2 separate regions of the Homo sapiens genome follow, and region 1 is linked to region 2. The links are contacts of gene promoters, found by promoter capture Hi-C in blood cells and fetal thymus (Javierre and others, 2016). All regions are on one chromosome and are shown on one strand. Each heading gives the region's core, a stretch centred on a gene start or on the middle of the fragment in contact. The rest is flanking DNA. Distances are from core to core; before and after follow the strand shown. Region 1 overlaps CAND1 (cullin associated and neddylation dissociated 1). Region 2 holds the start of SLC35E3 (solute carrier family 35 member E3).

The links. Contacts are between HindIII fragments. The CHiCAGO score rates a contact against its expected background, and 5 or more counts as called.
Region 1: a contact is called between a fragment that was not itself captured here and the fragment with the promoter of SLC35E3 in region 2, in 1 of 17 cell types (naive CD8 T cells). The highest score is 6.4, in naive CD8 T cells.

What each region holds. Positions count from the first base shown.
Region 1 is chr12:67,296,844-67,301,579 of GRCh38, reverse strand. It overlaps CAND1 (cullin associated and neddylation dissociated 1), which reads right to left. Exons shown (of 15, transcript NM_018448.5): 5 at 3,917-4,173; 6 at 3,727-3,832; 7 at 2,485-2,630. Among named protein-coding and RNA genes, the nearest start is that of CAND1, 30 kb to the right of the region's middle. The HindIII fragment of the contact is 2,774 bases long and covers 526-3,299 here.
Region 2 is chr12:68,742,973-68,747,847 of GRCh38, reverse strand. SLC35E3 (solute carrier family 35 member E3) reads right to left here and starts at 1,672. Exons shown (of 5, transcript NM_018656.5): 1 at 1,069-1,672. The coding sequence starts at 1,470. NUP107 (nucleoporin 107) reads right to left here. Exons shown (of 28, transcript NM_020401.4): 28 at 2,039-4,875. RefSeq lists enhancers at 650-839, 1,200-1,309, 1,360-1,459, 1,309-1,999. The HindIII fragment of the contact is 13,773 bases long and covers 1-4,875 here.

The DNA of each region.
Region 1 (4,736 bases), core at 663-3,162, 1.4 Mb after region 2:
TTGTATCTCACTTATCTATACTTGATGGATAACATGTGTGTGAAATCTCCAGAAAATCTTTCTTTCTAACACCATCAGGTTTAATTAGTTGGGTAATATGAAGTCAGAAAGGTGGCAGAAATATTAGCAGTTATCATGATAGTCTAAAATTATCTCACAATAATTTCTTTATTCTTAGATAAGACTATACATAGCCTTGAAATAATAGAGCGGAGTAGTAACTTTTTACTGGCTTTTATTCCAATTAGCTTAGTTTGACAGTCAAATGTAGCCAGCTAGGCCTTAGAAGATTCTACAGTATACAACAAAATAATAAAATTTTCCAACTCAAAAGCTTAAAATTCACCTTAGCACATTACAGGAAAATACAACCAAATACTGCTAAATGCAAGACGTTTGCTTATTTACCAATATCTATTCAAATAAAGTTAAAAGATACTGCCAAAATACACTATCAAGTTAAGAGCACATAAAATTTTTTCCATGTCAATACACTATGGCAATTGCCTCCCAGAAATATAAGCTTTATTAAAAACAAGATTATAAAAAATTAACAAATGTCCTTATTCACTAAAATTACGTTGATTTTATAAATCACAAAAACACCATGGTAGAAAAGTCATTTAATGGGTATAATTCATACTAAGTGATAAAGCAGGTGAAGTACCTAGTTTGTTATACAGCACACAAAAAAACAAAATTCAAAACCTGGAATATACATTGCTACTGCTTTCTTCAAAAGATATTCATATTAAAATATAAGCTAAAGTTTCCCTTCATTAATACAACCCATTTATTGATTGCCTGTGTGTCAAGTACTGTCCTAGGCACTGGAATAAAGCAGTCAATCAAGAGATTAAAACATCTAGCCTTCATGAAACTTATATTCTAATAGGTAGGAGACCATCAATTACAGTATGTCAGAAAGTTACTAAGTGTGATAAACAAAATAAAAACAATAAAATGAAAGATAGTTCTGAGGTGGAAGACTAGCTGAGGGATGTGTGAAAAAGGAATCAGGTATGACTGCAAGGTTTTTGGCCTGATCAACTAAGAAGAATAGAGGTACCATTCTGAGATGGAAAAGGCTAAAGAAGAACAGGTTAGGTGGGAGATGGGGAAGGGGCAGGGAAAAGATATTTTAGATATCCAAGCAGCAATATTAATTAAGCAGTTGCATATGAATCTGGATTCACAAGTGAGATCTGGATTAAAGATAGGATGTGGGTTGCCAGCATATTGATATTAAAGCCAGGAGACTAGATGAGATCAACAAAAAAATCAACAGTATAACAGGTTAAGTTCAAGGACTGAGCCTTGGGATACTCTAAGTACAGTGGTCAGGGTGAAGAAGAAGAAACAGCATCGAAGACTGGAGTAATCACAACGATAGGACTACATCCAGGCTAGAATGGTATCCCAGAAGCTAAATAAAGAAATGTTGCCGAGACTGAGTAATACGATAGGCAGAGTCAAACATTTGCAATCTCATCCATCACTGGAGGAGTGGATTCAAGAGAGAATGGAAAAAAGAAAATGGAACTGCATTCTTTTAAGGAGCTCTGTTGTGGAGGAGAGAAACTAGGCAGCAGCTGCTAGAGGAGTATATGGTGTTAAGAAACTCTTTTGGTACTTGTTTTTTAAAGATGGGTGAAATTACTGACTTGACAGGAAAGCTGTTATGTAAATTCATTCAAAGAATCAAACTAAAAAGTATTCTCAAAAATAACAAAAAATCCACCAACCTGTTTACCTAGTAATTTACCAACTTAAATATTTGTTATTATGATTCTTCCAATACAAACAGAAACAACTGACATGAGCAACCCCTATGTCCTTGAAGTGCTGCTACTACTTTCCAGAGTAAATATCATAAATCATCGTGTGATTACATCAATCTTAGGAGCCTCAGAAATGTTGTAAGCTATTAATGAATGTTAAATGGGGCCTCGAACAGTATTTAGAATTTTTCATGAACTATGAATAAACAAACTAATATTCTTTCAAGCCAAGCTGCCCTAAATATGTATATCTACAGATTCAATTCTTTCTAAAACCTTGGTTTATCTCCTTACAAAAATGCTTTGTAGAAAATTTGAATAGTACTTAAAACCAAAAATCATACATAGTTCCTAGCCAAGAGAAAACAAGTGGTAATAGTACTAGTTGTAAATATACAGATTTTTTTCTGTATACTTAAAGAAATAAAATTGGGCTATGGTGAGCAATTTTTGCTACATACTTTTCACTCACCTTATTAACAGCATTAATGAATGATTTTTAGACATGATTTTTTAATGTGTTGCATAACAGTTCAATACATGGATGCCCTCTAACTTAATTTGCTGTTGTCAAATATTGAGATCATTTCCCTTTTCACTATTATAACTAAATAAAACAAACAGTACAATTTGGACTAAGAATCATCTCCATCTATAAGTGTCTTTCACAAAAACTCAAAAGATTCTATTTAATTTGCAATACCTTGATCATCATCATCACCACCATCAGCATCCATTGCATTTTCATCTTCATCTTCATCATCGTAATTATAATTTGGATCATAGGTAAGATATTTAAGACAAATATTTATAATGGTAGAAACATGAGGATATACTTCCTTAGGACATCTAAAGACAAAAACAAAAGCTGCCTTGAAGAGCTGCATTTTACTCCTTGATTCATTACCTGCCACATTTTGCTTTATTACCAGCAATAACATAGGACAGTAGTTCCCAGACTATCTAGCACCAATGATTCTTGCTCTTTCTCTCCCATGGACTTACTATTTTAAAAGGTTTACCTTTCAAATTGTACTTATTTAATCAATTTTAAGATGAACTCCCCTAATCCCGATTTTAACTATGTTATGGTTAATGTATGGCAGTATAGACAGAAATCGGTATATAATCAACATGTTATTAGAAAACCAAACCCAGATGAATGTGCTCTTCAGTAACTAGGATTATTTGTGGAAATGCCAGTGCATATTCACCTAGGCTTGGTCTTCTACCGATGTAATGAGAGGACAGAACATATAAATGCCCACAGGGCCAGCAAATAAAAGAATACTTTGTGTTTCTCAACTAAAGGAACAAAAATGAATCTAACAATTTCTGATTTTCAGAATATGGTATGATTAAAAGCCACTTCTCAAAACCAGGAGTGTCAAGGGATAAATGCAGAAAACAACCAGTAAGGTCTCAAGACACCATGCTACTGCATTAGTCAAGAGGAAAAATAATGTTACTTATCTTGTATTGCCTTCTAGTACACAAATACACAACTTTTACTAAGCTTTTAAAAAATATATTAGAATCAGTTTCCAAATTGAGAATCACTGACCTAGCAAAATGGATGTGACCTAAGAAATTGTTGAAAAGGCAATTCACTACTTATTTCTGACGAATAATTTATCCTGCTGGGCTTTCAGTACAGACTACATTATTACACTGGCATTTCTTCCCTTCTAAAGTAAACCCAAAATAATTATAAATACCTTTCCAAAATTCTTTAAATAAAGTCCTAACAATGACAAGGAAAATTTTCAAAATAAATGTGATGACCACATTTTATAATAGCAAGATGACATTAGTTTCAAATACTGTATTGTCTGTTATATCTGAAATCCAAAAGGCCGCTTCTCCTCACACACCTAATGTAGACCTTATGATTCTACTCTTAAGGAAAAACTTTTTGTAAAAAATAGAGATCTTAAAAACTTACCTTCTTACAAATGATTCAAAGGCTTGAATACAGTACTCTCTTAATTCATCATCATCTACATTGCAAAATTTTACCACCAAAGGAATTATCTTCTCAAGGTATTCACCTAAGAAAAGCATAATGGTTCTTTAAAAACATGCATTAATTTTTTTAATTAAAGAAAACTGTAAAACTTTTAAAGATTTCTTACCTATTCTATGACCAGCTTGCCTACTAATAGCAGCAATACATTGTATGTAGGTTCTTGTTGTTGACATAGAATCATTTTTGGACAACTCTGACAACAGATGTTCAATAAGATCTACAAAAACTATATTTCCACAGCTCATAACCAGATGGCCAAGAGCGATAATGGTTCTTTTCCTCACTGCAAGTCTAGGGCTGGTCAACTGGGGAAGTAGACAGGTCAGAATTGAAGGATGGAAATTAACAAGAAGTCCTCCTTGCCTTAAAATAAAATAAAAAAAGAAAGAAAACAACAAATGAATTCAAGATGCCTGGCCACTACTAAATGTCTGGCCTCTGACCTCAATGCAAATATTCAGAACACAAATTTAGTTGAGACTAATTCATAGTGAAAGAAAAATTAAATTATCACTTTATCTACCAATGCAACTGAAACCTGAGCTAAGTGAATGCAGCACTGAAATTTACATTGCCAAACTGACTCCGGGAATCTAGACCTAAATCCCCAATTATAGGATATCTAATTGATTGGCTTGGGAAAATATTAAAAAACAAAAACAAAAACCACAAGTCTGGGTGTGAAGGCTCACACCTGTAATCCCGGCACTTTGGGAGGCTGAGGCAGGCAGATCACTTGACCCCAGGAGTTCGAGACCAGCCTGGGCAACATGGCAAAACCTCATCTCTACAAAAAACACAAAAATTAGCTGCGTGTGGTGGTGCATGCCTGTAGTCCCAGCTGCTCAGGAGGCTGAAGTGGGAGGATCACCTGAGCCTGGTAAATTGAGGCTGCAATGAGCCATGATCATGCCAATGCACTCCAG
Region 2 (4,875 bases), core at 423-2,922:
GCTAATGATAAACACATAACTGGGAAACAATGAACCTGTATAAATGTTTTCTGTTTTGACTTGGGAAAACTAGTTGTTAATCCTATTTCCTAAACGTGAAATATGACAAATCTATATTGATATTCACATTTAATTCCATTCTAAATTTGTGGTAAATATATTGCACTTTGCAAGAAAATACCACATGAATACAAAGGTGAGTAAATGGATCCCCAAACTAGTGTCTAAACAGCATAAGCATAAATATAAAACAATAAAAGCATAAAGACCTTAAATATAAGGCCAGGCACGGTGGCTCACCACTGTAACCCCAGCGCTTTCGGAGGCCAAGGCGGGCAGATCACCTGAGGTCAGAGTTCGAGACCAGCCTGATTAACATGGAGAAACCCCGTCTTTACTAAAAATACAAAATTAGCCGGGCGTGGTGGCGCATGCCTGTAATCCCAGCTACTCGGGAGGCTGAGGCAGGAGAATCGCTTAAACCCGGGAGGCGGAGGTTGCGGTGAGCCGAGATCGTGCCATTGCACTCCAGCCTGGGCAACAAGAGTGAAATTCCGTCTCAAAAAGAAAAAAAAAAAAAAGAAAAAGACCTTAAATAAGTTACTAAGTGCTAAAATTGAGTCCACCTCCTTTTATTTAAAGATGCAGACAGCTCTAAAGTATGGTGCTGCAGACGTTTTGAGACCTACTTTATGCTACATCTTTTCACGTTTTATCATACACGATTTGATTCCCCTGGGGGAGAAAGGCTGTTTTTGTTTGAGCTTTTGCAGATATTCTGATAACACTGGACTGTACCACCCAATACAGCTTTTTTTCTTATCGATCACAGCATTTAACGATTTCCATCAAATGGCAGCTACTAAAATTCACACATGCCCACTCTTCTGGGCTGACAAGATGGCCTTTTCCCCCTCCCTAAAATAAGCCTAAAAGTTCACATGCCCACAGATGACTCATTTGTGGATTTCAAGATGAAGGGAAAGACCAGTGTGCGTTCGAATTTCCCGGGGCCAGTGCAGGAGGTGGGTCGGGAGAGCGGCGCCTTGGGAAGCTGAAGCTACTCACCAGCGTGAGCTGGATTCTGGTGGAGAAGGTTTTCTGGTAGCAGAAGGTCTGGATGGCTATGATCACCGGCGTGGTCATGGCCTTGGCCAGCTGATAGGTGCCTATGGTGTTGTTCTGCAGAGAAAGGTTAGTGAAGACCACAAAGCCACAGAAGCTGAGGGCCAGGAGGAGGAGCCTGGAGGGCGGCAGACTTTTGGGGGCAAAGATGTCCAGCTTCTGGCAGATATACAAGCCCAGCCAGGTGACCACGAAGTGCACCAGGGTCAGGCTCATGTTGGGGAAGCCGTGGTACACATAAATCCATTTGTTGAGGAACACAATGCAGATGGACACCAGCAGGTTGAACAGGAGCCCGGCGGCGATTCGCCAGTGGCCCCGCACTCGGTCCACCAGCAATGCCATGATCCCCGCGAAGCTGGGGCCGTCTAGCCTCGGAAGGGGCGCCGGGCCTGTCTCCGGCTGCCCTTCTACTCCACCGCCGCGTCCTCGCAGACGCCGACCTCACCGTCTGACCCAGGAGTGGCATGCACAGATCAACCCCGGGCGAGTAGCACTCTTAACAGAGGACACACACCCCGCCGCCGCCCTGTAAGCCAGCTAGGACGCCGCAGCACGTCCCACGCCCCGCTCATCTCCGCCCGCAGCCACGTGACTCGGGGCTCCAGTGCTTCCGCCCCCGAGCCGCTGGCTGAACGGCCGCTACCCTGCGCAGGCGCGCTGAGCCTTGGGCGCGCGACGCTTGCGTCTTTGGGTCCTATCCTCTGGGTCCCCGACCCCCTTGGTCACCTAACGCCTACCTGACTGGACCAATCTAGGACCCCTTTCTTGATGTTTGTTTCCTGTGTGTCATTGACCCGATTTGCTAGACAACTTCTCTCTGGCTGTGCAGACACTGTTAGCCAATTTTACGTATTAAATGCTGAGCAAATTTAGTAGCCCTCGCCAGAGGGGGGAAAGAACTTATTGAAAGCATGTTTTTATTTTTTATTTTTGGAAAAAGACATTCAAAATTTACTTTCCAACAGACAGCATCATCGGGTATAACTACAAGGGTTTCTCCTTAGATCATACATTCACAAAGCATTATTAGCTCAACAGTGAGAAAATGTGTTCTCTAAAGATGTCCCCTTGACAATGTAAACGAGTGCTACTGTGTTCACTTACAACTCGAGAAAAAAACGTACAACCTGGCAAAACCGTATATATATACAGCTGTCTCTAGGGGTGCATACAAATATATATATATGTTTTGGATCAGGTCAGGTGCAATGACTAAGAGATAGAACTTTGAGTAACAGTCTTGATCGACAGTAAGGTCCTTCACACAGAAGTCAGGTTCTTCCTTTCTCCTTCCTCCTTAAGTCGATAAAGAAAGATTATATATTGTAGATATTACAGGTACAAAAGGAGATTTTTAAAAAAGGAATCACAAAAACATCTTGAATGTCCAGCTGTTCCTGCCAATACATCAATTCTTAGTTTTAAGACAGAGTCTAGGATTAATTCAGCAGTCATAAAATTAAAAAGAGAGACTGTGGTACAAAAAATTTAAAATAAATGAGGAAGTAGGGCATGGTGGCGTGGGCCTGTAGTCCCAGCTATTTGAGAGACTGACGTGGGAGGATTGCTTGAGCCCAGGAGTTGGAAGCCGGGATGGGCAACATAGTGAGACCCCCATCTCTAAATTAAATAAATAAATGAGGTAGGGAAATTAAAACTTTCACACCCAGGACATGCCTGTTCCAACTTTGTAGCCTTCATGCAATGCTCAAGGAAAAAGTCTTCATAATTCCTTGGCATAAGTCACACCAAGAAAAGTTTTTAAAACTTAGTATGCGAACCTGTGATAGGCAACACGCCCTTCCCTGAGTTTCCTCTCTAGAATGAAAACCCAGTTCTTCAAGAGTAGGCACTGAGGAACTAAATTAAGTTGCCTGAAATTTCCCACTCAGGTGCCCACCACTTCTGGTGTTCAGGAAGAGAGGCATTTGGGAATTGTGAGGAGCACATTGGCACTCTTGGGGCTCCAACTGAACTGTATTTAAATAAGCAGCAACACACACATTGACTCCCTAAGGACTCAAAGGAGTCCAATTGGCTGGGTGCAGTGGCTTATGCCTGTAATCCCAGCACTTTGAGAGATCGAGGCGAGTGGATCACTTGAGGTCAAGAGTTTGAGACCAGCCTGGCCAACATGGCAAAACCCCGTCTCTACTAAAAATACAAAAATTAGCCAGGCGTGGTGGCAGGCGCCTGTAATCCCAGCTACTAGGGAGGCTGAGGCAGGAGAATCGCTTGAACCCAGGAGGCGGAGGTTTGCAGTGAGATATCATGCCACTGCACTCCGGCCTGGGAGACAGAGCAAGACCATGTCTCAAAAATAAATAAATAAATAAAAATTAAAAACAAGTCCATTTGAGGGCATCCTAATTAAGAGTCTAAGGTTGAAGGAATTTTGTAATTCCACAACCTTAGTGGGTTTCTGTGCTGTGTTTTTTAAAGGACATTCAAAAAACAAGGCACAACAAAAGACAAATACAGAGTGGGGGACATGCAAAACAAGTTCCTAAATAGATGACAGACCTTGTCCATTTACCCACATACGGTTACGATGGAAGCATACAATATTCCTCCTCCTCATTTAGGCTAAGTAGTTTTCCCACTGTTGTTCAACAAATAGGTAACAGTCTTTGGAAATAGTCACCCTGGGTTGTACAAAGTTTCTATATATACAGTTTGTTGCAAGTAACAAAACTACTTTTAAGACTCACTTATTTCCCCTCCCCACCCCAAATCTAGTCTGTATTTGTTTTGGTATGAATTTTTTGTTTTTATTTTTTGCAAAGTAGCATAGCAATAATCATGATTACAGGACTGCATGAGCTGTAAAAATCATTTGCATATTAGTAAGAATAAAGAAAACAGGAAGACAAGATGAATTCTTTAGAGAAATAAAACAAAAAAAGCACATAATATAGAACTGATCAAATTCTATGATCCCATCTCAGGCTTCCCAAGCCAGCTGTCTCTAGGGGTGGCATCTATAAATACATATTCAAGAAATTCCTTAGATGATTAGCAAGTTTGGGGAATTACTGTTTTCTATTAGAATCACATTCTTTTAGTTGTCTCCTGTTTATAAGCCCTACACTCTAGCCTATTTGGTGTATTTGTTGGTTCATAATAATGCCCAGCATTTATCATTTCTTGCTCATACTGATTTCTTAATCTATAGAGCCTCATCCTTCTTGTGTCACTCTTTGCCTTTGCAAATTCAGTGCATTACTCAAACCCCAAACCAATACTACTTCCTGAGAGTCTTTTCAGCTGGAGAGAGGTTCTTCCTGCTCAGACTACTTGTAATTCTTTCTTTTTTTGGAGACAGTGTCTCGCTCTGTCCCCAAGGCTGGAGTGCAGTGGCGTGATCTCGGCTCACTGCAACCTCTGCCTTCCAGGTTCAAGAGATTCTCATGCCTCAGCCTCCCCTGAGTAGCTGGGATTACAGGCACCTGCCACCATGCCCGGCTAATTTTTGTATTTTTTTAGTAGAGACAGGGTTTCACCATGTTGGCCAGGCTGGTCTCAAACTCCTGACGACAGGTGATCCACCTGCCTCGGCCTCCCGAAGTGCTGGGGTTACAGACGTGAGCCACTGCACCCAGCCACTACTTGTATTTTTAAATGACACCTTTTAAATGTACTTATGGTATTTCCCCTATTAGAAGAGCGGGATCTGTAATCTCCAATATATTCAGTGCTTACTGTGTGCCAGGTACTACGCTAAGTCTTTATATGCTCTTATTTTGA